6 separate regions of the Homo sapiens genome follow, and regions 1, 2, 3, 4 and 5 are each linked to region 6. The links are contacts of gene promoters, found by promoter capture Hi-C in blood cells and fetal thymus (Javierre and others, 2016). All regions are on one chromosome and are shown on one strand. The core of a region is centred on a gene start or on the middle of the fragment in contact, and the rest is flanking DNA. Distances in the headings are between cores, read along the strand shown. Region 1 overlaps DCUN1D5 (defective in cullin neddylation 1 domain containing 5). Region 2 overlaps PDGFDDN (PDGFD downstream neighbor). Region 3 holds the start of PDGFDDN (PDGFD downstream neighbor). Region 4 overlaps DYNC2H1 (dynein cytoplasmic 2 heavy chain 1). Region 5 overlaps DCUN1D5 (defective in cullin neddylation 1 domain containing 5). Region 6 holds the start of MSANTD4 (Myb/SANT DNA binding domain containing 4 with coiled-coils).

Region 1 (3,700 bases), core at 20-2,519, 2.9 Mb after region 6:
TAACCCAATTTAAATGAAGGGAATTCATTTCTTACTGACCTCCATTTAAAATGTTGACCCATTATCCCAAATGCCAGTTTTACTGGTATGAATGATATATAATCAAAAGGTCACCCATCTTATTTCACTTATAAAGGTTACTAGATACAATAGAAATAGAAAATATTTGCCTCAACTAGGAACTTTCCTAGGTAGTGTAAGATTCTAATTAAACATTTGTTTACTATATTAGCATTTTTAATAGCCAACATAATAATTGCATTATTCCAGGAATTGTCCCAGGTATATTATTTTTTCTTGTGACTGTTCTATTAAGTAGGTAGTATTATCACCACCTCCCACTACGACTTTATTTTTTGAGACAGGGTCTCACTGTGTCGCCCACGCTGGAGCGCAGTGCTGTGATCATGGCTCACTGCAGCCTTGAGCTCCTGGGCTCAGGCCATCCTCCCACCTCAGCCTTTCTAGTAGGTGGGAATATAGGCATGTGCCACCACGCCTGGCTAATTTTTTAAATTTTTTGTAGAAATGGGGTTTCAGCCGGGTGTGGTGGCTCACGTCTGTAATCTCAGCACTTTGGGAGGCCAAGGTAGGCAGATCACGAGGTCAGGAGATCGAGACCATCCTGGTTAACATGGTGAAACACTCTCTCTACCAAAAACACAAACAATTAGCCGGGCGTGGTGGTGTGCGCCTGTAGTCCCAGCTACTTGGGAGGCTGGGGCAGGAGAATGGCGTGAACCCAGGAGGCGGAGCTCACAGTGAGCCGAGATAACACCACTGCACTCCAGCCTGGGTGACAGAGTGAGACTCTGCCTCAAAAAAAAAAAAAAAGAAAAAGAAAAAAAGAAATGGGGTTTCACGATGTTGCCCAAACTGGTCTCCAACTCCTGGGCTCAAGTGATCTAATTGCCTCAGCTTCCCAGAGTGGTGGGATTACAGGCATGAGCTGCTGTGCTTGGCCATACCCTCATTTTATAGATGAGAAAACTGAGACTTAGATTAATTAATTTGCCCAAGATCATATAGTGACAAGAGCCAGGATTCAAACCCAGGTCCTTCTGATTCTAAAGTCCATGCTTTTAACTACTATGCTTTTATGTATTTTTTATTTAAATTTTATAATGTTTATATATAGTTATAAACATTTTATTATAATAGATATTATTTTATGTTTATTTTTTATTTAAGCTAATTTTCACTTTTGCAAAGAAAATATTGGTACTCTTGGTTAATTTCTGTCATCCATTCAATAAATATTGAGCACTTGTTTTGAGTCAGGCACTGTGCTGAGTGCTGGATATATAGTGCTGAGCAAGTCAGACAAGATCCCTGCCTTTGGGGGACTTGCCTTCTGGTGAGGAAGACAGTCAGTAAACAGGTATGTAGGCAAGATAAGTACAGATTGTGGGGAGTTATAAGGATAATAAATATGGTGAGGTTCAGGAATAGAGAAGAAAGAAGGGTTAGATGGACTTTCAGATAGAGTGATTAGGGAAGGCCTCTCTGTGGAGACCACTTTGTGCAGAGACCTGATTAGGGAGGAACCATTTGTTTGCCAAATAAACAGTAACTGTTCTGTCTTGAAATGGGTATGTCCGTATTAAAATGAAGCCAATAATTTTGCCTACTGAGAATAATACATGTAAAGCCCTTAGCACAATACCTGGTATATAGTCAGAACTCAAATGTTATTATTATTAAAACAGTAATAGCATTACAGCATCAGATTTACTGGTTGTGTGTTTTTTACAGTGTTCCAAAATTAATGACTCTTACGTAGCTCATGTTGAAGGTGCTGTGTCACTGAGAATTTTTTTTTTTTCCCCCTAAGCATCTGTTATGGCTGGCATGGTATTAGGCCTTGCAGATATAGCTAGGAACATTCCTTTATGGTTATAAAGAAATCAGGAAATTGATGGTGTTTTTCTTTTAGTTTTGAAAATATCACTAAACTTGTTACTATGGTATTATGTGTGATAAGGCTGTTGGTTTTGTTCTTTCACAAGACCTCATTCTTGAGTGATATTTAAATTAATGATTCAGTAATATACTGGCCTATGGTAATTGAAAACATGGAAAGTGAAAGGGCAGTTTTAAAGTCTCATAGAGTCAAAAAATAAGGTTGGAATTGCATAGTCCTAATATAGTACCTAGCTGGTGGAGTAGAGTGAACTCATAGTATGAACAAAATCATTTCTATAGCTTCTTCAATTGAGTGGAAACCTAGTTGTCCAAAAGAGTTAATTAAATTTAGCTCCAGAGGTTTTACCCAGAGAGTAGTTTTATTAGAAAGATTGGAAGCAATGGTATTGGAAGGATTAACATTTTGCAGTCCGGGGAAAGCACATTAGTTACAGACCTCGCTTTAGACTTAGATCTGTTACTATTTACATCACTTTGGCAAAGTCAGTTAACATTTACAGACCTTATCTAAGTTATAAGGTATTATATCTCTATGTAATCTCATTTGACTTGCTTCTAACCAAATTTTAATTAGTAATCACCAAGTAATCCTCCAGTTTCTAGGGGGGCTATACTGATATTTCTTTTTTATTTTTTATATTTTTTGAGACAGAGTCTCGCTCTGTCACCTACGCTGGAGTGCAGTGGCGCAATCTCGGCTCACTGCAACCTCTGCCACCTAGGTTAAGTGATTCTCCTGCCTCAGCCTCCTGCGTAGCTGGGATTACAGGCACCTGCCACCACGTCTGGCTAATTTTTGTAGTTTTAGTAGAGACAGGGTTTCACCATCTTGGCCAGGCTGGTCTTGAAATCCTGACCTCGTAATCCATCTGCCTCGGCCTCCCAAAGTGCTGAGATTACAGGCGTGAGCCACTGCTCCTAGCTTATGCTGATGTTTCTAGACATCCTCTAAAGCTTTCTCTTTGAATCACTAATGGCAACTTTGAGAGCAAGTATGTTTTCTTGATGCTTTAGAAAAATTTACAATATATTTACATCGTGGCTTTTAAAAAAACCGTTTGTCTTTTCCCTTAATTTTTTATTTTTTATTTTTTTTTGAGACAGGGCCTTGCTCTCTCCCAGGCTGGAGTACAATGGCGTGATCATGGCTCATTGCAGCCTCAAACTCCTGGGCTCAAGCAATGCTCCCACCTCAGTCTCCTGAGTAGCTGGGACCACAGACTGGCACCACCACACAAGGCTATTTTTTTTTTCCCTAGAGATGGGGTCTCCCTGTGTTGTGCAGGTTTGTCTGGAACTCTTGGGCTCAAGTGATAATCCCACCTCGGCCTCCCAAAGTGCCAAGATTACAGGCATGAGCCACCGCGCCTGGGCCTCTTAAATTTTCAAATCTGATTTTTGTTTTCTTTCAATCATATATAAGAATACATACTCATTTATGCATTTTAACACCTTTATTGTATATGTATGCCTTTTAAGTTATAAAATTAACACATTCTCATTTAAACAATTCTCCAAATATGTAAAGGAAGAGAAAGTGCCCTATAATTAATCACCCCCTTCACCTTTTAACACGAGTGCATTGTTAGTACTTATTTAAACCTAATAACACTTAACATGTTACACAAAAAAATTAAAAAGGGTTTTGGCTTCAGACCAGTATTAATGTCATCTTAGCAGCTTGGATCTCAGGCAGCAAGAATGTATTGACTTTATGTTGTGCTAGTAACCTAAATATGGTGCTGTCAAATTTACCTGAGCAGCCTTGGTCTAG
Region 2 (3,482 bases), core at 34-2,533, 2.1 Mb after region 6:
GTCCATAAGAAGAATAAACGCAGGGGAATTTTTTCTTTCCTACCTGGAAGTTGGAGGACAAAAAGGCACAACTTATTTCAACTATGATAATGTGATTCACCACTGATCGTGACTGCTTGTAACTAATGTCTTTATTTGCTGCTGGAGTATAAGCTCTCTGAAGGTAGAAGTCTCAATTTTTTCTTGGTCAATGCTGTGTCTCAAGGCCTGAGGCAGTGACTGGCACACCTTGTGTGGAGTGCAGAATAACTCTTAACTAAGAGTCAGAGACCTAGGTTTACATCTTGACCCTGCTTCCAACTTTCCACAAAACCTTGAGAAAACCTTACTCATTCTGGCCTCAGTTTTCTTCCCTTCAAAGTAACAGTCAAGATCAAGAAAATTGTACTTTTCATTTTTTTTGAAGATGTAGACATTGCATGGCTCTAAAGCTATACATTCATGAAGCAGGTGGTTGTGGTGGAATGGTCAAAAATACTCCCTGGTCACTGAGCAATGACCATTGTCAGTGAGATGTAGCCCCTGCTGATTGTACTGTCACTCCAGCTGTCTTTGGAGGTAAATATTAACAGTATACTCATTGGAGAGCAGAGCTGGTGGCAGTAACTGGCTTAGGATTACACAGATGATGGTGACCCATTGACAGGGGAACACTTTAAATTAGATTATCTGTAGAGACCTTTCCAGTTCTCAATATCTCTGAATCTATAATGTATGCAACTGAAATGAGAGATAAAAACAGATTGGAGGTAACTAGAATCCAACCACTGAAATGTTACTTCAAATGGTGATGAGTGAATATGATGCTATTTCTACTTGTTCCAAACTCTCATTTTTCATTTGAAGTCACTCTAAGCTTGGGACAAAGGGAAAAATCCCTACTTCTCTTGTTTGTCTATCATAGATACAATTTACACAAAACTCGAAAAGTACAGGGACACCTGAGCCTTTTCTTTTATTCTGCCTAAAACTTCAAGCTCAGAAAGGCTGAGGCTGGAAAAGCATTCTGGGATTGATATGCAAATGAGAACACCAGGCTTCACACTTGGCAGCTTCATATTCCTGTGAAGTGGAATTTTTTTGCTTTGAAAGCAGTGTTGAAAGATTGCAAGAGGTGTATGTGTGATGTCAACTATTTGTATTCCACTCATGTTTTCTGAAAAGACTCAGGTCTTGAAGACCCGTAACGTGTAGAATAACCATAGCCAAAATTTTCATCAGCTTCATTTCCAGCTGCTCAGCGGTGCAGCTGATATGCAACCTCTGAATGCAGCAGCAGTCATTGAGTTCCTTCCACAGAGCGCTGGAGATAAAACAGCTGCAATGCTCTCCCACTTCTCACACTCCCAGGAGAGGGGAAAGCCATAGAGAAGTGACAAACCAGTCACGAGCTAGTGAACACTAACACACAGCTGCAAATTCTGCAGCCTAAGCAGCATCTGGTGCTATCTTTCATAAGGAGATTGTTGTTTTCATAAACTGAATACTGTTCTCTGAGCATCATGGATAGAAATGTAGGTAAGAAATTTTCGGATAGTGCTTTATTTAGGGCATATTTCCTTAAGTCCCCATACTTTGTAAATATAGTACAAAACCTAAAATATACAACTGCTTTGGAAAAAAGGCAGGTTCAAGTGATAATAGAGAAATATAACTGTAGCCAGGGTCATTATAAAATTTTAATTTGTGTATTAACTGTAGGAAGCTTTGAGATGCCTATTTGTGTTCCAGGCAGCCAATGTGTACATATTTCTTGCAACCTGTGGGGAGCAGGTGAAAAGGAATGTGGTACTTTGCTGCATCTGACCACAGATGCTAAAGAGGTGAAGGACTCTCTACTACCATACCAGGGCACAGCATCCTGGTGATGAGGGGCCAGTCTAGAGTGTTATAACATGTGGCATAATGTAGGCTTGATTTTCTAAAGAAATTATGGAGGCTTAGGAGAATTTCATTATTTTAAAGCTGTATGGTACTGCAGCTCTCCCTGAGAACTCCTTGGAGACACTGCTTTTGAGAGCATAAGACTGCAGTCTAATTGCAAATGGGTCTATTTGTTGAGGAGAGACCTTCTAGGACCAGATGGTAAATGTGAATATTGGGAACTATTTTGAAATGTAAGTGAGCCCTGGGGCTGTGATGGAACAGCCAGTAGGAGAGGGTAGCAAGAGCCATTCAAGGAGACAAGTTTAAGATATTAGTGGGTATCCAAGGTGATAAAGAACACTTCCAGAACATCCAGACCCCATCTGCCTAAGGGATTTCCAGAGAGAGCTCCACGCCAAGAGGATCCCATTCTTAAAGGGAAGATGCATACCCACTCTTCTTGATCAGGAGCACTCTGGAGGAGGGGAGCAGTTCTGCTACCAGAAAAAGGAAGATAGTGACCAGGAGGGCTGGAGATCCAAGAACTTTAGGAAGTGGTAAGGGATGTGAATAACAGCCCCATGAAATTCATCGAGGGGGAGGGGTTGAAGAAGTTGATGAATATCAGAAAGATTTGGAGGTAGACTAATGAGTCCTTTTTATGTTGTTGAAGTAGATATTTTAAAACAGATGAGACTTTAGAAGGTGTTTCAATAATTGTTGATGAATCCTATGCTTGCTCTCATCTAATCATACACACACAAACATTATTTGACAATGACAAGCACGAGGTCTGGACATAGTCATTTGCTTCCCCCAACCAGTGTAAACTGCTACCCAAAGTAATTTATTCCTATGAACAAAGCCCGAACAAGGTTTAACACAGACCTGCACTGGGAAAACCTTACTCGTGACCAGGAGTATGCATCAGTCAATGAATTAAAGTATCGTGGTCTCTTACTATTTGCCAAATACAGAAGTTAATATGTCGAGTACACAGAACTGCTCTTGAAGCCTTTATAATTTTGTTGGTATAGATCAGTGACTCTCAACACTGGTTCTACATGAGAATCACCTAAGTCATTTTGAAAAACACAGTATTTGTCCCAGAAATTCTGATTGAATTAGTTCAGTGAAGGGCCTATATATCTGTATTTGTGAAGTTCCTCAGGAAATTCTGGCATGCAGCTCTGTTTGAAAACCATTGACATAGTTCATCTCCTAATTAGTCTCTCACTCTACAATTTCCTCCGTACTCTGCCATCAGAGGATTTTTCTCTTCAAATCACACCAAAGTTCCGTGTTTAAAATCTTTAATAGCTTCCTACCACATGGCAAAATAAATTTAAATTCTAACCTGGCATTCAAGGACCTTAGAAATGTACTCCCAATCTAGCTTTTCAGTTTTGTATTTTATCATATTCCATGAAGCTATAGAATTCAACTTAATAAATCAGTTCTTGCAAACAGCATGAGCTTCTTGATGCCTCAGCAATTGTTCCACACTCTTCTTCTGAAGTGCCCTTCTTCTACTTCAGTCGTTGGCAAAGCACAATCATCTTCCAAGTCTCCGCTGTAACATCAATTTCCCCAACCTTTCAGCAATGTAATGACTG
Region 3 (3,805 bases), core at 930-3,429, 2.1 Mb after region 6:
GTTACCTGTTATCTTTTGCACTTCTAACATGTAGCCAATAAATCTATTTGATAGCCATCAAAGGAATAAAAAGCTGGCCGTACAAATTACATTTCAAAACAAACCCTAATAAATCCACATTTCCGCATGGCTCATTCACCTGGAATAATGCCTTTTATTGAATATGTTCTTATAGGGCAAAACACTTTCATAAGTAGAGTTTTTTATGTTTTTTGTCATATCGGTAACATGCAGCTTTTTCCTCTCATAGCATTTTCTATAGCGAATGTAATATGCCTCTTATCTTCATGAAAAATAAATATTGCTTTTGAACAAAACTACTCCATTATTTAGTACTCAATTGCAGTTTTAAAAGGTGTACACTGCTAAAAAAGAAAAAAAAAAAGAAAAGAAAACTTCCAGCTGGACGCGGGGGCTCAAGCCTGTAATCCTAGCACTTGGGGAGGCCGAGGGGGTGGATCACACGGAGATCGAGACCATCCTGGTCAACATGGCGAAACCCTGTCTCTACTAAAAATACAAAAATGAGCCAGGTGTGGTGGTGGGCGCCTTTAGTCCCAGCTACTCAGGAGATTGAGGCAGGAGAATCACTTGAACCGGGAGGCAGAGGTTGCAGTAAGCCGAGATCACGCCACTGCACTCCAGCCTGGGCTGCAGAACAAGACTCCTTTCAAAAAAAAAAAAAAGGAAAACTTTTTTTCACAAATGCATCAAACTGTTTGGAATGACAAGATTGAGTGATTTCTGAAGGCTTCATTTTATAATGCCCGAAAGAACAACACTTTGTTCCCCAATTACAGGCTTCTGTTCTGTCTTTGTCCTGCAGCTGCACAGTGGGGCAAGACTTGGGTTTGGTTTTGTTGCTGCTTTGTTGCTTCTTCATTTGACTGTTTCCCCATGAGTCTTATAATGAATTATGTTCTCCTCTGACATTGTTCCTCACCTAAGAAAATCCACAGCTGTCTCTTCCTTGAGGCCTGAAGTCAACAACATTACAACCTCATTTCCCTTTTATCCACCTCCTTTTCCCATCTGGGTGGACACCCCAGCCAACTAGTGATTCAGTGTTATCAGTTCAGACAGACCAGTTTAGGAGCTACACTCCTATATCATTTGCTTTGTAATTTGTGAAGAGGCACATAGCATAAAGAGAGCTCTTCTAGCTGCAATGCACATGCAAGAATTTTTGCTTTTGATTATAGCCTAATCTTTATATCATCCTGCTGGAGACAAAATAGCAGCTGCAGTGTTGAATGAAACTCTGCCATTTTAGTGGTTTTAGGTCATTTGGGGAATGGGAGTAAAGACCTGTATTCTGTGGCAAGAATTAATTTTACCATCAGAAATACTAGCTAGTGTGTGAGCATGGGAGAGGGATGGGGACAGGGTCGAATAATTCTGTGCCTAATAGCTAATTCAAGTAACTGGGGTTTTTAGGTAAAAAGTCATAATAGTAATATATATATGTATATATATGTGAATATATGTGTATATATGTATGTATATATGTTGCATTTTAATACAAAGACATTAAGAATTTTATTTCATTTCCTGAAATGTTCACATGTCCAGTTTTATTCTGAGAATAACTCAACAGATGTCTAAATTGTTGATACTCTCCTAGGTTCCTCATAGAATATTAAATTAAAATTCAATAGATTAGTATTCATGCCTGAAGTCCTAGGAAATATAATTTTGTTTATTGGCAGCCCTAGTCAAACATGCTAGAAGACAGAATATTTATAATTCACTGGTTTTATTGACATTCACTCAAATTCTGTTGTTTTTAAAGATCAAGTTAAAGACTACACAGACCTTCAAAACTTAGCATAGCACAACTGGGATATCTCTCAAATAAAATAGGCATCAACAAGGGATAAGCAACTAACCACTTAATGTAAGACTTTATGCTTGCTTTTCCAGTTATATTTCTGAATTTTGCAAACTAATTTGTGTCCTTTTTTTGAATAAATTTCATTTCTATAGAGATGTCTAAAAATTATTTAGCAGACTACATTAAAAGAGAGTGGAGCTAACTTCTTAACATAGGTTAATATACTCAGTGCAACAAGCTGTGGACCAAGAAATCTTCATTTTCTAGCAAAATCATTTGACTTTGTGATTATTTTAAACTGTTTATACTTATTGCCAGGTTTAGTGACCAGAAACCAAATGTTAAAATCATTCTTGGATTCAATTTACATTTTAAATAATACCTACAATACAAGTTCCCTTTTAAGAACTAAGGTCTCTAACCTGTTTCTGGTTGAGGTCATAGTATAAATTTCTCCTCTTCAGGCCTTCTAGTGTCTTTCTAGACTTTCCTTTCTCCCTGTGTCTCCCACAGGCTTCCTTTCTCACCTGCCTCTACTTGTCAGTCTTCAAATCAGAGAAAATCAGGATCAATATCTGCTTTGGGAAAGACAGGAGATAGATCAGTCGAGGAGATCAACTGCATGGTTACCCAAGTGAGCAATTAATAGGGTAAAATTCCCAACTGCTTTAAGAAATCACTGCTTTTTGAGAGTCAAACACATCAGGTGCATATTTTTCAGTACTGTCCACTTTGGTGCAAACTTCAGGATATGGTGGTAGATATTTGTTGACTTCTGTCAATAGAAATTTAGCCACAGTCAATATGGGGAAAATTGACTAAATTACATGTTTCATTCATTCATTCAACAGCAAATACATTAAAGCCCGCTATGTATCAGACATGCTTTGAGGCTTGAAACACAAGATTCACAACAGAGGATAAAACTAGAGAAAGATATTCTAGGTAAGATCAACAGGAAGAACAAAGGTCTCCCAGCAAAAATGCATAAGGTAAGTGTGGGCAGTTCAGAAAATATAAAGTGATCGAAAGGAAAGAAAAGGAAACTGTAGGCAAATGAATTTAGTCTTTTACATTTAGTAAAGGAAGCTCCATGAGGACCTCTGAGCACAGTGGGGGCTGTATGTGTCATAGAGCACCAGACAGAAAGTTAGAAGGTCTTGGTTGTAGTGACTAGCCTGCCACTTTCTAAACCTATGTTTCCTCATTTACACACTCAGATATGTAAGATGTTCTGGAGGTGTCTTCCGGCAGAACAATTCTGCAATTCTGCATTTTCGAAAATGGGTCTACAGAAAGAGTAGGGATTGGGCTATGAGTTATGAGGCTCCTTGAAGTTCTAGGGGTGAGACAATAAGGATAAAGCGAGACTTCAGAGACAGGAAGGGAAGTTTGCCCCTGTGGTTGTTCAGGCTGTGCACTACAAATCTCTAGGGGTTGCTATTTGCATGAACTAAGATGACAAGACAGGTTAAGAGGTTTCAAAGTTCTTTGTGGTTGGATGGGCTGGAGGTGCAGGCTTGGAGATCTCCTGTAGGAAGAAGTCATGTGAGTTCAAGAGAATTCTTGTGGGAAAACCAGGGAGGCAGGAAGGAGGGGTGAATTTTGCAAGCATGTCTCCAAGAAGAGGAGCCAGGTCTTGTAACATTGAAAGGGAGTCATTCTCAGGGTCAAAGCTGAAACCATAAGAAGATACACAGAACCTGAAAGACCTCCATAACCATTAAGAGGGAAGAAGACTAGTTTCTAAAGCTCATAAAAATGTGTTCTGAAAAGGTATTAAGTACTGACTGAGGGCTAAAGGTCCAGCCCTGTGCTAAATACAGCAGATTCACAGGAAAATAAAACAAACGTATTTCCTGCCTTTATCAAGCTAGAGAAGACATTACATGAGGCTAGAGAAGACTAGACACTAAACAAATAATTACATATGTAACCCAATACATTTGTGAAAAGCAAAAGCATAATGTG
Region 4 (3,934 bases), core at 87-2,586, 2.8 Mb after region 6:
CAAGACTTTAATTAATAATAAAAATCATTATCACTAATATTTGCATAGTACTTCACCTTTTATATTATATGATGTAATCCTTTTAACAACCCTATAAAGTAGGTTAAAAAGTATTACTATTGTTATTCCAATTTTACACATGAGAATGTTAAGTCTCTGAAGGTTTAAGTGACTTTCAGAAAAGGCACAGCAATATTACAGCTAAGATTCAATTCCAGATAAACTAATTCTAAATTCAGGTGCCTCTCCAAATATACCAATATCGTCTCACAGTTTATGTCCTAAGATAAACAACTAACAAACTGCGCAACAATCTTTGATCAGCCTTGTTCAAATTTGGTTCACAAACCCATTCTTAAGCCAAATGCAAATACTGATACCACTGCCAGACTCTTATTTTCACAGATATTAGCTGCTGATTGGTAAGATACATAAAGTCAAAGAAACTATTTGCCTGGCATTTCCTCTATAATTGCTTAATATTTCCATGCTTAAGTACACATAAAAAGTCTGGACTTCTCTAAAGCTTATTTCAAGCACTGAACTCATAAGCCATCTTTACTTATTACAGGTATGGTTTAAATATTTCTTAAAAATCACCAAATATAGACAATTAAAAAATAGTAACATAAACACTCACAAAATAACTATATCTACCCAGGCATACGCCAACCTAATAATACAGCTAATGTAGATGCCATTTTTAAGAGACACACTTTGATCATTTAAAGTCCAAAGAGGTAATTTCATGTGGTCCTTTTTTCTATGTTGTCTCTACTTTCATAGTGTTTTAACTTAGTTTTCAATAGCAACCTGAAGAAACTGATTATTCAGCCTTTCATGAACGTATACCTCCACAGGTGGGGGAAATCATTATTTTTATGTGAATAAAAAACCATTTTTTTATATGAGGAAAGTATAGCACATATATATGAGTCTGTATTGAGCTAAATAAATGAGTTAATGAATACATAAATGAGGCAGAAAAGATAAATCTTCATTACAGAAGAATTTCAAATAATATATGAAGATACTACCCCCCACCCCACCCCACCCCCCCAAACCCCGCAAGGAGTGGAGCTTAATCCTTTCCTTGCCACTCTGAGAGTAAGCTAGATTTATTAACATGATTCCAAAGAATAAAGCCAGGAGGGTAGAAAATAACTTCACATTGGAGAAACCTGGCAACACTACCATAGCCAGGTGATGAAGGTTAACATAACTAGTGATGTCATATGGTTGTTATATACCCACTGATATGACGCAGTAAGAAAGACACTCCACCTCTGCGGTATTCTTTCCAAACATTTATAACCTAGTCTAATCATAATATACTAGCTTTAGAAAGAGAAAATCCTACATGTGTTTCTAAGGTTTCTGTTCTTGTTTCAAGACAAGACAAATTATCAGGCTCTACTCTACACCTACTGAATCAGGACCTTTGGGGGTGGGGTCTAATAATCTGTTTTAACAAGCCACTGGGTGATTCCAATGGACATTGAAGTTAAAGAACAAGTGGACTTTACATATTACAACTATTTAATATTTAACACACATTAAAAGTTATAAGACGTCAGGTAAAAACTGGAGAAAACCTGAATAAAGTAGGAAATTTAGTTTAAAAACAATGTATCAAAGTTGATTCATTAGTTGTGACAAATATACCACACTAATGAAAGATGTTAACAACAGTAGAAATTGGGGCAGGGTATACAGTAATCCTTAATATTGTATCTACAACTTTTCTGTAAATCTCAAACTATTCTAAATTAACGCTTATGTTTTTAAAAATAAGTTAATGTATTTGGAATAATCAATCATACCATTCTGTGTAGTGCCACTTTTGTTTAGCTGTCTAAGGAGATTTCCACTTCCTCTCAGAACTGTCTTCAAAGCTCTCAAACCCCAATCATAATGTTGCTGAGGTGTCAAAAGTTCCCTGAAATAGAGACATGGAAATCAACACATCAAATAGCTAGAAGAAATTACTTTCATCATAACATCCAAAGAAATACAGAATATAACACTGACACATAGAAATGAATGTTGATATCCCATTAATTTATATAAGGGAAGCAACCACACAAAATAATCATTCAAGTAAGCTGTTAAAGATGGACGGTTCTCAAGGGTAGGATAAAGCTTTTATGAACAAGCTAATTATCTTAATGAAGACACCAAATGACAATTACCTGTTACCCTAATGCCTAAAGCCTTTAATCAATCCATCTTGCTCTCAATCTCTGACACTGTCTAGTTCACCATTATCTCTTAAGTGATATGGAAGAGAATTGTACATTGTCCCAAAGAAGCTAAATGTCAGTTTCTATTACTAGAAATAAGACATAAGAAAAATTGTGAAGGATTCTTTCCAAAGAACAGTAGTTTGTGAGTGGTCAGCTGATAAATTAGTTCAGTAAGAATCATTTAGCTGAAGCACTCTAATATAAACATTTTGAAGAAAAAAAACTGATCAAATTAATAATATTTAAGAAAAGCAAGTAGTTTTGAACCAATATTTTTATGTGCATGCTAAAGCCTTTCATAGCTACACTATAAGTACAATAAAATCATCAGAATAAAAATCATGCAATAGGTGAATTGAGAAAATATGAAAATGATCACTAATAACCAAAATCAATCATTAGAAATGTAAAATATAAAAATATTTAGAACAAGAAAACTCACCTAGATAGATTGAAAATAGCTACCAATTTTCTGCTCAATACTTTAGCGTCTTTAAAGCCTTCCGAATAGAGAATAACTTCTGCAATAAGCTCATTGTCTGGATGAGACATAGCTACGGGCCTGAAAAGCTGTTTAAGATTATCAGGCAGTTTTTGTCTTCCTCCATAACCTTTTCCAGCAGGATTCATAGTGATAAAAATTCCAGAATTAGAATTTACTTCTACCTGAAATATTAATTAAAAATATTAATTTAAATATTAAATATTAAGTTAAAATATTTAACATATAGGCATCGTTTATATTTGAAACTATAAACATAAAATATGCTGCCAACAGAATTTTATTGTGACATATTACTACACATAAATCTTATACCTTAGGTAAAGGTAACCTCCAATGTACTAACCATCTCCTTACTCAATATATGATAAATTCCTTAAGACCTACACTGCTTTGCAGAGTTTATTTACAATCAGTTTTTTGAGGCTGAATGTTTAAGAGATACTAATTTCATTATCTATTTATACATTAAATATATGTTTACTAAAAGCCTTCTTAGTACTAAACACTTTGTTAAGTACACAGAGACAACTGAACTAAATAATACTTTAAGCCACTCTGGAGCTCAGAGTCTATCTGGTATTACAGAGAGGCAATCATAGTGTAATAAATATTATGACAGGGAAGAACTGAATGTGATAACAGCACTTAGTAGGAGGATTTTCAGCAAAACCCTAAGAATAGAAGCTAAATTAGAATGTGTAAATAATGAATGGGCAATTAGTAAGTAGAAGCATCTAGAGTAGAAAAACCAAGAAATCTAGCTACAAAGGAAAGAAAAGAGAAAGAAGAAATATAAATCAGGGAAGGTTTGTTTATGTTTTAGTTATTATTAAGATGAAAAAGATGTGATTATGTTTAAAACCTAATGAGGAATTGGTAGAGGAGGGAAGACTGAAGCTATAGCACAAGGGATAATAAGGTCCCAGGGAAGAGGATTCCAAAGTACAGGTGAAAAGATTAGTACTGGTTGGGAGAAAAGACAACTCTTTCTTTGTAAGAGAAGAAAAAAAAGTGAATGTAGAAGAAACTAAATCTTGAAGGCAGGTAATTCTCACTTAATAGTTTCTTCTCTTTTTCTTTGTGAAGAGTTTAAACATCACATAAACAACATGTTAACAATTTAGAACTGGTCTTACATTCTTGGGCTACCTAGAAAACTATGTACTGTTAAAATGTTATTTTA
Region 5 (3,360 bases), core at 257-2,756, 3.0 Mb after region 6:
CTTTTTCTGTATTAAATGATAAAATTATGTGGCTTTTTTTTGTATTTGCCTGGTTTTGGTATCAAGTAATACTGGCTTTATTAAATAAATTTTTCTTTTTTTAAATATTTTAAATTTTCTTAATCTTTTATGTTTTGAGAGAGATGTGGAATAAGTCTTTAAAGGTTTGGTATAATTCTGTAGTGAAACCATCTGTTCCTGGAGTTTCTTTTTTGAAAGTTTAAAAATTTTGAGTTCAATTTCGTTAATAATAACAGGTCTACTCAGACTACTGTATATTGTATGTGTTGTGGTAGTTTGTGTTTTTCAAGGAACTTATTGGTCCATTTCATCCAAGTTTTGATGTAGAAAAATTGTTACATATGTAGAATTTTTATATCTATGTAAAAATCTGTGTAAAATCTCTATATAAAATATTTACATAGATATAGATTATATCTATATAAATCAATAGATATAAAATATCTATATATAGATTATAGATCATATAGATATAGAGTATATAAAATTATATATAGATTATACCTGTATAAAAATCTTTATATGTGTAGAAAAATTTGTGTGTGTAGAGAGTTGTTCATTGTGATCCCTTACTATCATACATTGTATATGTTCATTGTGTATCCCTTACTATGCTTTTGATAGCTGTGGGTCTGTAATAATACCCCATTTCATTCCTGATATGGGTAATTTTTGTCTTCTCTCTTTTTTGTCAGTCTTGTTAGAGAATTGTCAATTTTATTGATCTTTTCAATGTGCTTTGTTGCATTGATTTTTCTGTTTTCAATTTCAGCAGTTTCTGCTCTTATTTACTTTGTCCTGTTTGGTTTGTTTATTTTGCCTTTCTTTTTCTGGGTTCTAGAGGTACAAGCTTAGATTGTTGATTAAGGCTTTTTCTTTTTTCTAATGTGTGTATTTAGCACTATAAATTTCCTTCTCAGTACTGCTTTATTTGTATGTCAACATTTTGATATGTTGTATTTTCATTTAGTTTAATGTATTTTCTGTTTTCCCTTGAGACTTAACTCTCCCATAGATTATTTAGGTGTTTGCTGTTTAGTTTCCAAGTGTTTGGAGATTTTGCCATTAACTTTCTGTTATTGATTTCTAGTTTGATTCCATTGTTGTCAGAGAACACATTCTTTTTTATTTCAGTTATTTTTACTCTGTTAAGGGGTTTATGTCTCCGGATTGGTCTGTCTTGTTTTATGTTTTGTGGGCACTTGAAAAGAATGTGTATTCTGTTGTCTTCGAATGGAGTAGTCTACTAAGTTCAGCTAGATCCTGTTGGTTGATGATGTTAAATTCTCTGTGTTCGTTGAATTCTATCTAGTGTTTCTATCAATTGCTGGAAAAGGGGTGGTGAAATATCCAACTATAATTATGAATTTATTTCTCTTTTCAGTGCTACTTCACACATTTAGTTTTTACTTCACACATTTTGCAGCTCTATTGTTTAACGTGTATAGGATTGCTTAGAATTGTTTAGGATTGCTATGTCTTTCTGATGGATTGACCCTTTTATTATAATATGATTATCCTCTCTGTTCTGATCATTTTCTTTGCTCTGAAGTTGCTCTATTTTAATATCATCTAATGTAGAAAGCCACTTCCTGCTTTCTTTTAATATTTCTGTGAGATATTATTTTCCATTGTTTCACTTTCAACCTGCCTATACTATTTGAAGTTAAAGTTTCTTCTAGACAGCATATGTTTGGGTCATGCTTTTTTTAATCCACTCTGTCTTATTGGTGTATTTAGACTACTCACTGTCATGTAATTATGGATATATTAGGGCTTAAGGCTACCTTGTATTTTACAGTTCAAAAATTTCCATTTGGTTCTTTTTTTGTATCTTATATTTCTTTGTCCTTGGACTTTTTTTTTTTTGCTGAGACTTTATATTTTTTCATTTTTCTATTACGTTTTTAATTACTTGTTGAAGCATTTGTGTGATAGCTAATTTAAAATGTGTCAGATAATTCTGAACATCTCTGTCATTTTGGTGGTTGCAAGTATTGATTGTGTTTTTGCATTCCATTTGAGATCTTGGTTTGACAAGTGATTTTTTAAATTGAAACCTGGATATTTTGGGTAGTATATTATGAAACTCTGGATCTCTGGATCGTATTTAAAGCTTCAGTTTTAGCTAGCTTACTCTAATGCTATTCTGGCAAGAGAAATCAGGGCTGCCACCTTATTACTGCCAGGTACAGGTAGAAATTGAATTTTCTACTCTGCATTCATTAACATCTAAGGAAGGATATCCCTTGTGACTGCTGGGCAGGGATGAGAGTTCTGGGTTCCCACTACGCTTTTACTGATGCTTTCTTGTCTGAAAGGGATAGGAGTGCCTTGTTACCACTGGGTGATGGTGAAAGCCCTGACCCTTCACTAGGCCTCCTCTATATCAACCTAGGGCAGAAGAGGATTGGCTGCTTGTTACTACCTGGCAAGAGCAGAAGTTCATGTTACCTGTGTGGTTTCGATTTCCACCAGCATTGTAGGAGTTGAGAGAGAGGCTTTATTATATCCTGGTAAGGGTGGACATTTTAGGTCCCCATTCAGTCTTTGCTGGCATTGGTGGGAGTTGGGCCATAGTTTTTTCAGTGGTTTTTAACTGGAGTAGAGTGTTTGTTTTCTAAGAGTTTTCTGTTTTGTGAGGCTCCTCCTTTCTTTGTCTTTTGGCTAGAGAAAAGGCAGGGTTTTATTGGGGCTTTTTGTCTGCCCCCATTGGTGTTGCTGGTTACTAGCTTCTTCAGCTCCAAGTTTGGAATATATTAGGCAAAAAGAAACCCAGATAACTCACCACCATGTAGTTCCTCAGGTTTCCACCTTTCAGGGTCTTGTGTTTATTTTCTATATAATGTTCAGGGATTTTAGTTGTACCTAGGAGAGAGTGAGTGTGAAAAGTTCATTGGCTGCATCCCACTCAAGTTAGTGCCTCTTTTATCTGCACCACTTTAGAATCAAACTCTTTGAAAGCATTCGTCTATACTTATTTTCTCCAGTTCCACTCTTTTCATTCTCTCTTAAACCTGTGCCAGTAAAATTTCTATCCCTGTCACTCCTTCAAAACAGTTCTTGTCAAGGTGTCATATACAAGTAAATACTGAAAGCAAAAATATGCATGTATTTTTGAACTGTAAGATCTTTTTTTTTTTTTAATTTTTAGGTTTGGGGGTACATGTGAAGCTTTGTTACATAGGTAAAGTAGTGTCAGAGGGGTTGATTGTGCAGATTATTTCATTACCCAGGTATTAAGCCTAGTACTCAACAGTTATCTTTTATGCCCCTCTCTCTTCTCCCACCCTCCACCTTCAAGTAGACCCCAGTGTCTGTTGTTTCCTTCTTTGTGTT
Region 6 (3,768 bases), core at 329-2,828:
TAATTACTTCCTATTTTATGGGAGAGTTCCTCCAAGAATATCCAGCAAGGATGCACCATTCCTCCAGAATATTCCACCATTTATTTACCAAATCTTTTTTGTCTGTTACATTCTAGGCACTGTGTTATTCACAACAGTAAACAAGAAAAGCCCCACCCACATAAAATATGTGGGAAGTGCTGTCAGAGGAAAGGCCGTGATGAGAGCTCGCTGAAGTAGGCTTGCAGATTTAGTAAACAAAAATTTTTATTTTTTTAAATTTAGCAAATAAACATATGGATACCAAATATTCCATTGGACAGATTAAAAATTATTTGCTTTTTATCTGAACTTCAAATTTAACTGAGCGTCCTGTTTTTATCTGGCAAACCTACAGGGAAGGGAATACTTGGAAGTGGAGGGAGGGTGAATGGAGATAATTTTGGAAGCCTTCCTTTAGAAAGGAATTTCTAAAAATGAATGCTAGGCATAGCGGAGAAGCAGGGAGGAAACACAGCAATGCAAACTGACTTCCCAGTAGCCACTGTAGAGTTCAGGAACTGAAAGAAGCAAAGGGAATGGGGTAAGGAAGAAGAAATGTGGGTATAATGTCGAGAGATGAAGGTTGAGGGAAAAGTAGGTGCCTTATTTTTCAGGTTCGATAAGGAGTTTGTACTGTATCACCAGTGGTGAGATTCCACTAAAAAACTTTAAGCAGCTCATTTTGGCTACAACGTGAAGAATGAACTACAGTCCGGCAGACAGGATGTTGGGAGACCAGCTAGGAGGCTACTGATGGAATTCAGGTGAGTCCACAGAGGCCTGGACAGAGGCAGCGGGAAGAAAGGTGCACTAATCACAAACACCTGAACGTGAGACGGCAGAAAATAAGCAACTGCAAACTTGAATATAGAGGAGGACTGGGAGAGAAGAAAGCAGAAGCACATATTTGGGGAAACAGTGAAGAATGGTAAAAAAAAAAAAAAAAAAAAAAAAAAATTCAAATGTCTTCTGGGAAGTATATAGTATGATAAGGACTAAGAAGTGACTCCTAGATTTAGCCATAAGGAAGTCACCAGCGACCTTTGGCACGGGCAGCCTTAGAGGAATGGCTGAGGCCAATTAGGTCGCAGCTGGTCGAGGAGAAGGTGATGCTGGCCTAAGAACCCGACTGGAGCAGCACAAGTTTCCTACTTCTTCTTTGCCCTTTTAACAGGTGAGGGTCAAGGACAAGAGACGAGTTTGGAGATGCAGCGGCCAGTGCCCCAATCAGTTGGAACAGCGCAGCAAGCGGATCTCTAGGGGCCAATCCCTTCCTAGAGTCCACTTGACTGACAGAGCTGCGCGCCACAGACGGGGCACAGACAGGGAGGTGAATCACGAGGGGGCGGAATTCCAGGGCACTAACCCGGAACCGGTTTGGGACTTGATTCCCATTGTGAGGCCAGGCCTAGGGCGGGCTCTCAGCCAGAATGGCTACACCATTCTAACCAATGGATGAGACTCATCAAATGAGCGGCAGCCATATGAGCCATTGGGGTGGCGGGAGATGGGCGGGCCCAGTTAGTGGGCGGGGGATCAATGAAGCATCTTTTTTCCTACCCCCCTTGGGGCGACCGTGGGGAGGTGCCGCCGGGGTCGCAGGTGAGCGGTTCTATGCTGGAGGAGGCGGCCAGGGAAGCGGCGGCTCCGTGACCAGTGGGTGCCCTCGCAGTGGGTAGGGTCCCGGAGGGGTCAGCGGCAATTGGCGCAACGCTTGCTGCCGGGTTTGGTCCAAGGGCTGCGACGTAGCGGGACTGCACGCTCGGGAGAAGTGCCACGCGCGTCTGTCGCCTGACCGGGGAGGCTGGGGAGGGCCCAGGCCACGGAAACAAGACTGCAGAAGTTTCTGGGCACTCAGTCGGGACTCTCATTTAATACCCAGAGAGAGGAGATCTTCCAGGTTGCCCCGACTCCCACCGGGACTCCTACCAGCAGCAACCTCATCATTGTGGCCGAGGCAGGTGCGCGCCCCTGCTCCCCTGGGTGGCCTTCCGGGAGCCCAGTCTAACTCGATTCTTCCCAGGGGCTCTTTTTGGACGGTCCCAAAGGAGGCAGCGGGAGGGAGGTGAAAGATACTTTGATAACCGTCGACCCATAAGTATACTTGTTATGCACCTACCACGAGTTTTAGAGAAGAACATACTTTTTGGCAGGGAAGTGAATCCCCTATAAGAATATAGGGGAGGGGAAAGCCACACTTTAAAGAGAATTTGGGTAGGGTTTGATATTGTAGATTTGTGATGCTTTTCTTCTTGAACTGCTTAACTAATTTACCCTCAAATTTTTTTGATCCGGAACTTGCCGTCTGGTTTTTCTCAGACTTCTTAATTCTGACTTATCATGAAGTATCTAGGAACTTCATTCTCAAGTTTTAGTGCTTGTAAAAAGTTGCCTGGTTATATTATGCCATTGGCAGTACATCATCTTCACAAGGATTACGTAAGTGAACTACATCTCATTCCTGTTTCCAACTAGTGAAGAACGATTGTGAAATGGGATTTTAGAAAATGGCTGTTCTCTGTGATTGGGCATAGAAGGTTTGTAAGTTTTAGAGACTGCAGCTGTTGAATCCTTTCTGCTAAGAGAGCGATGACAGGCAATAGAAAAGGGATAGTGTTTGACATCTAAAATGACATATTTTCACATTTTATGAGGTGTTATATCCCCAGCACCAAAAATAGTGCCTTTCACACAGTAGGAGCTCAGTAAGTATTTTTTGAGGAAATTATTGGGGAATGAATGGATGGTAGAAAACCCAAGCTTCTGTTACTTGGATACCGGCATATAAAGGAGAGGACAGGAAGACAAACATTTCTGGAAATGGCTTTTATCCAGGTAAGCATATCTACAGAACTTCAACAACTCAAGATGCATCAATGCTGGCACTTTCTTGCACTTAATCAGAAAATATCAAGGTTTTAGAAGAAGATTTTCACACAATTAAGCCAAGACTGGGTATCTAAGGTGCATCCCAATATCAATTTCAGTCAGGTTAAAAATGTATTAAAGCCCATTTGATTAAATGAAATAGTTCATCAGTTCAGAATAGATCAGTCAGGACAACGGGATACCACTTTGTAAGTTAGAGATATGGAGTTAGGAATTGTTGGTCAAAAATAGGCCCTGCAAATAGCAACAGCTGCTGTCAAACTTTAAAAATATATTGACTCAGTGGTACTTCAAAAGGACTGCTATTTCTACCATGTACCAATACATTTACAACAATGCGATTTCTAAATTGATCTCAGATTCTAAGAGCAAAATCTTACGGTGGATATCTGCATAAATTTGGACTCTCGACAACTTCAATCATTTTTATTATATACTTATATTGGTTATATATTTATATGTTACTACAGTAACAGTTCTTCCATATTAATGGTAGCCTGCTTGAATTTCAAAAAACTTTCACAGTTATATTTGTCTCTTTCAGTTCATTTTTAGCAAATAATAGTCTTATTAAGCCAGAATTCGCTTAGTAAGATTTGCTGCTTGGCACTATCCTAATTTTCCAGCTTTAATTCCTGATACTTCTTTCTTTTATTTCTGTCCCTCATTAGTCTGTTTTATAAGACCCAAATCAAATGCTGATTCTGACTCAAAACATTCCTTGATCCCATCAAAGATTTGTCTTTCTTATGAATATCCAGAGTATTTTGTTAGTATTTCTTTATTGTAGTTTTTGTATATTTGCATTATTCATCCAGTGAAGAAATATTTGTTAATTACATTCAGATACTGTACTGG

Evidence for each region. Contacts are between HindIII fragments. The CHiCAGO score rates a contact against its expected background, and 5 or more counts as called.
Region 1: a fragment that was not itself captured here is called in contact with the fragment with the promoter of MSANTD4 in region 6 in 1 of 17 cell types (non-activated CD4 T cells); the score reaches 6.1 in non-activated CD4 T cells.
Region 2: a contact is called between a fragment that was not itself captured here and the fragment with the promoter of MSANTD4 in region 6, in 2 of 17 cell types (M0 macrophages and M1 macrophages). The highest score is 6.4, in M0 macrophages.
Region 3: a contact is called between a fragment that was not itself captured here and the fragment with the promoter of MSANTD4 in region 6, in 1 of 17 cell types (M0 macrophages). The highest score is 6.4, in M0 macrophages.
Region 4: a fragment that was not itself captured here is called in contact with the fragment with the promoter of MSANTD4 in region 6 in 2 of 17 cell types (total CD8 T cells and naive B cells); the score reaches 6.4 in total CD8 T cells.
Region 5: a fragment that was not itself captured here is called in contact with the fragment with the promoter of MSANTD4 in region 6 in 6 of 17 cell types (activated CD4 T cells, total B cells, naive CD8 T cells and 3 more); the score reaches 9.7 in activated CD4 T cells.

Annotation. Positions count from the first base shown.
Region 1 is chr11:103,084,308-103,088,007 of GRCh38, reverse strand. All of the region lies in intron 2 of DCUN1D5 (defective in cullin neddylation 1 domain containing 5), which reads left to right. Among named protein-coding and RNA genes, the nearest start is that of DCUN1D5, 6.0 kb to the left of the region's middle. The HindIII fragment of the contact is 3,227 bases long and covers 1-2,882 here.
Region 2 is chr11:103,885,032-103,888,513 of GRCh38, reverse strand. The region is part of intron 3 of PDGFDDN (PDGFD downstream neighbor); the gene reads left to right. Among named protein-coding and RNA genes, the nearest start is that of PDGFDDN, 20 kb to the left of the region's middle. The HindIII fragment of the contact is 849 bases long and covers 859-1,707 here.
Region 3 is chr11:103,903,701-103,907,505 of GRCh38, reverse strand. PDGFDDN (PDGFD downstream neighbor) reads left to right here and starts at 636. Exons shown (of 4, transcript XR_947960.3): 1 at 636-2,826. PDGFD (platelet derived growth factor D) reads left to right here. Exons shown (of 7, transcript NM_025208.5): 7 at 1-317. RefSeq lists enhancers at 2,776-2,945, 3,366-3,455. The HindIII fragment of the contact is 6,449 bases long and covers 1-3,805 here.
Region 4 is chr11:103,172,060-103,175,993 of GRCh38, reverse strand. It overlaps DYNC2H1 (dynein cytoplasmic 2 heavy chain 1), which reads right to left. Exons shown (of 89, transcript NM_001377.3): 35 at 2,689-2,912; 36 at 1,824-1,939. Among named protein-coding and RNA genes, the nearest start is that of DYNC2H1, 65 kb to the right of the region's middle. The HindIII fragment of the contact is 1,616 bases long and covers 529-2,144 here.
Region 5 is chr11:103,068,645-103,072,004 of GRCh38, reverse strand. All of the region lies in intron 4 of DCUN1D5 (defective in cullin neddylation 1 domain containing 5), which reads left to right. Among named protein-coding and RNA genes, the nearest start is that of DCUN1D5, 22 kb to the left of the region's middle. The HindIII fragment of the contact is 1,266 bases long and covers 874-2,139 here.
Region 6 is chr11:106,020,050-106,023,817 of GRCh38, reverse strand. MSANTD4 (Myb/SANT DNA binding domain containing 4 with coiled-coils) reads left to right here and starts at 1,578. Exons shown (of 3, transcript NM_032424.3): 1 at 1,578-2,856. RefSeq lists enhancers at 1,037-1,106, 1,937-2,056 and a silencer at 1,497-1,606. The HindIII fragment of the contact is 3,155 bases long and covers 1-2,783 here.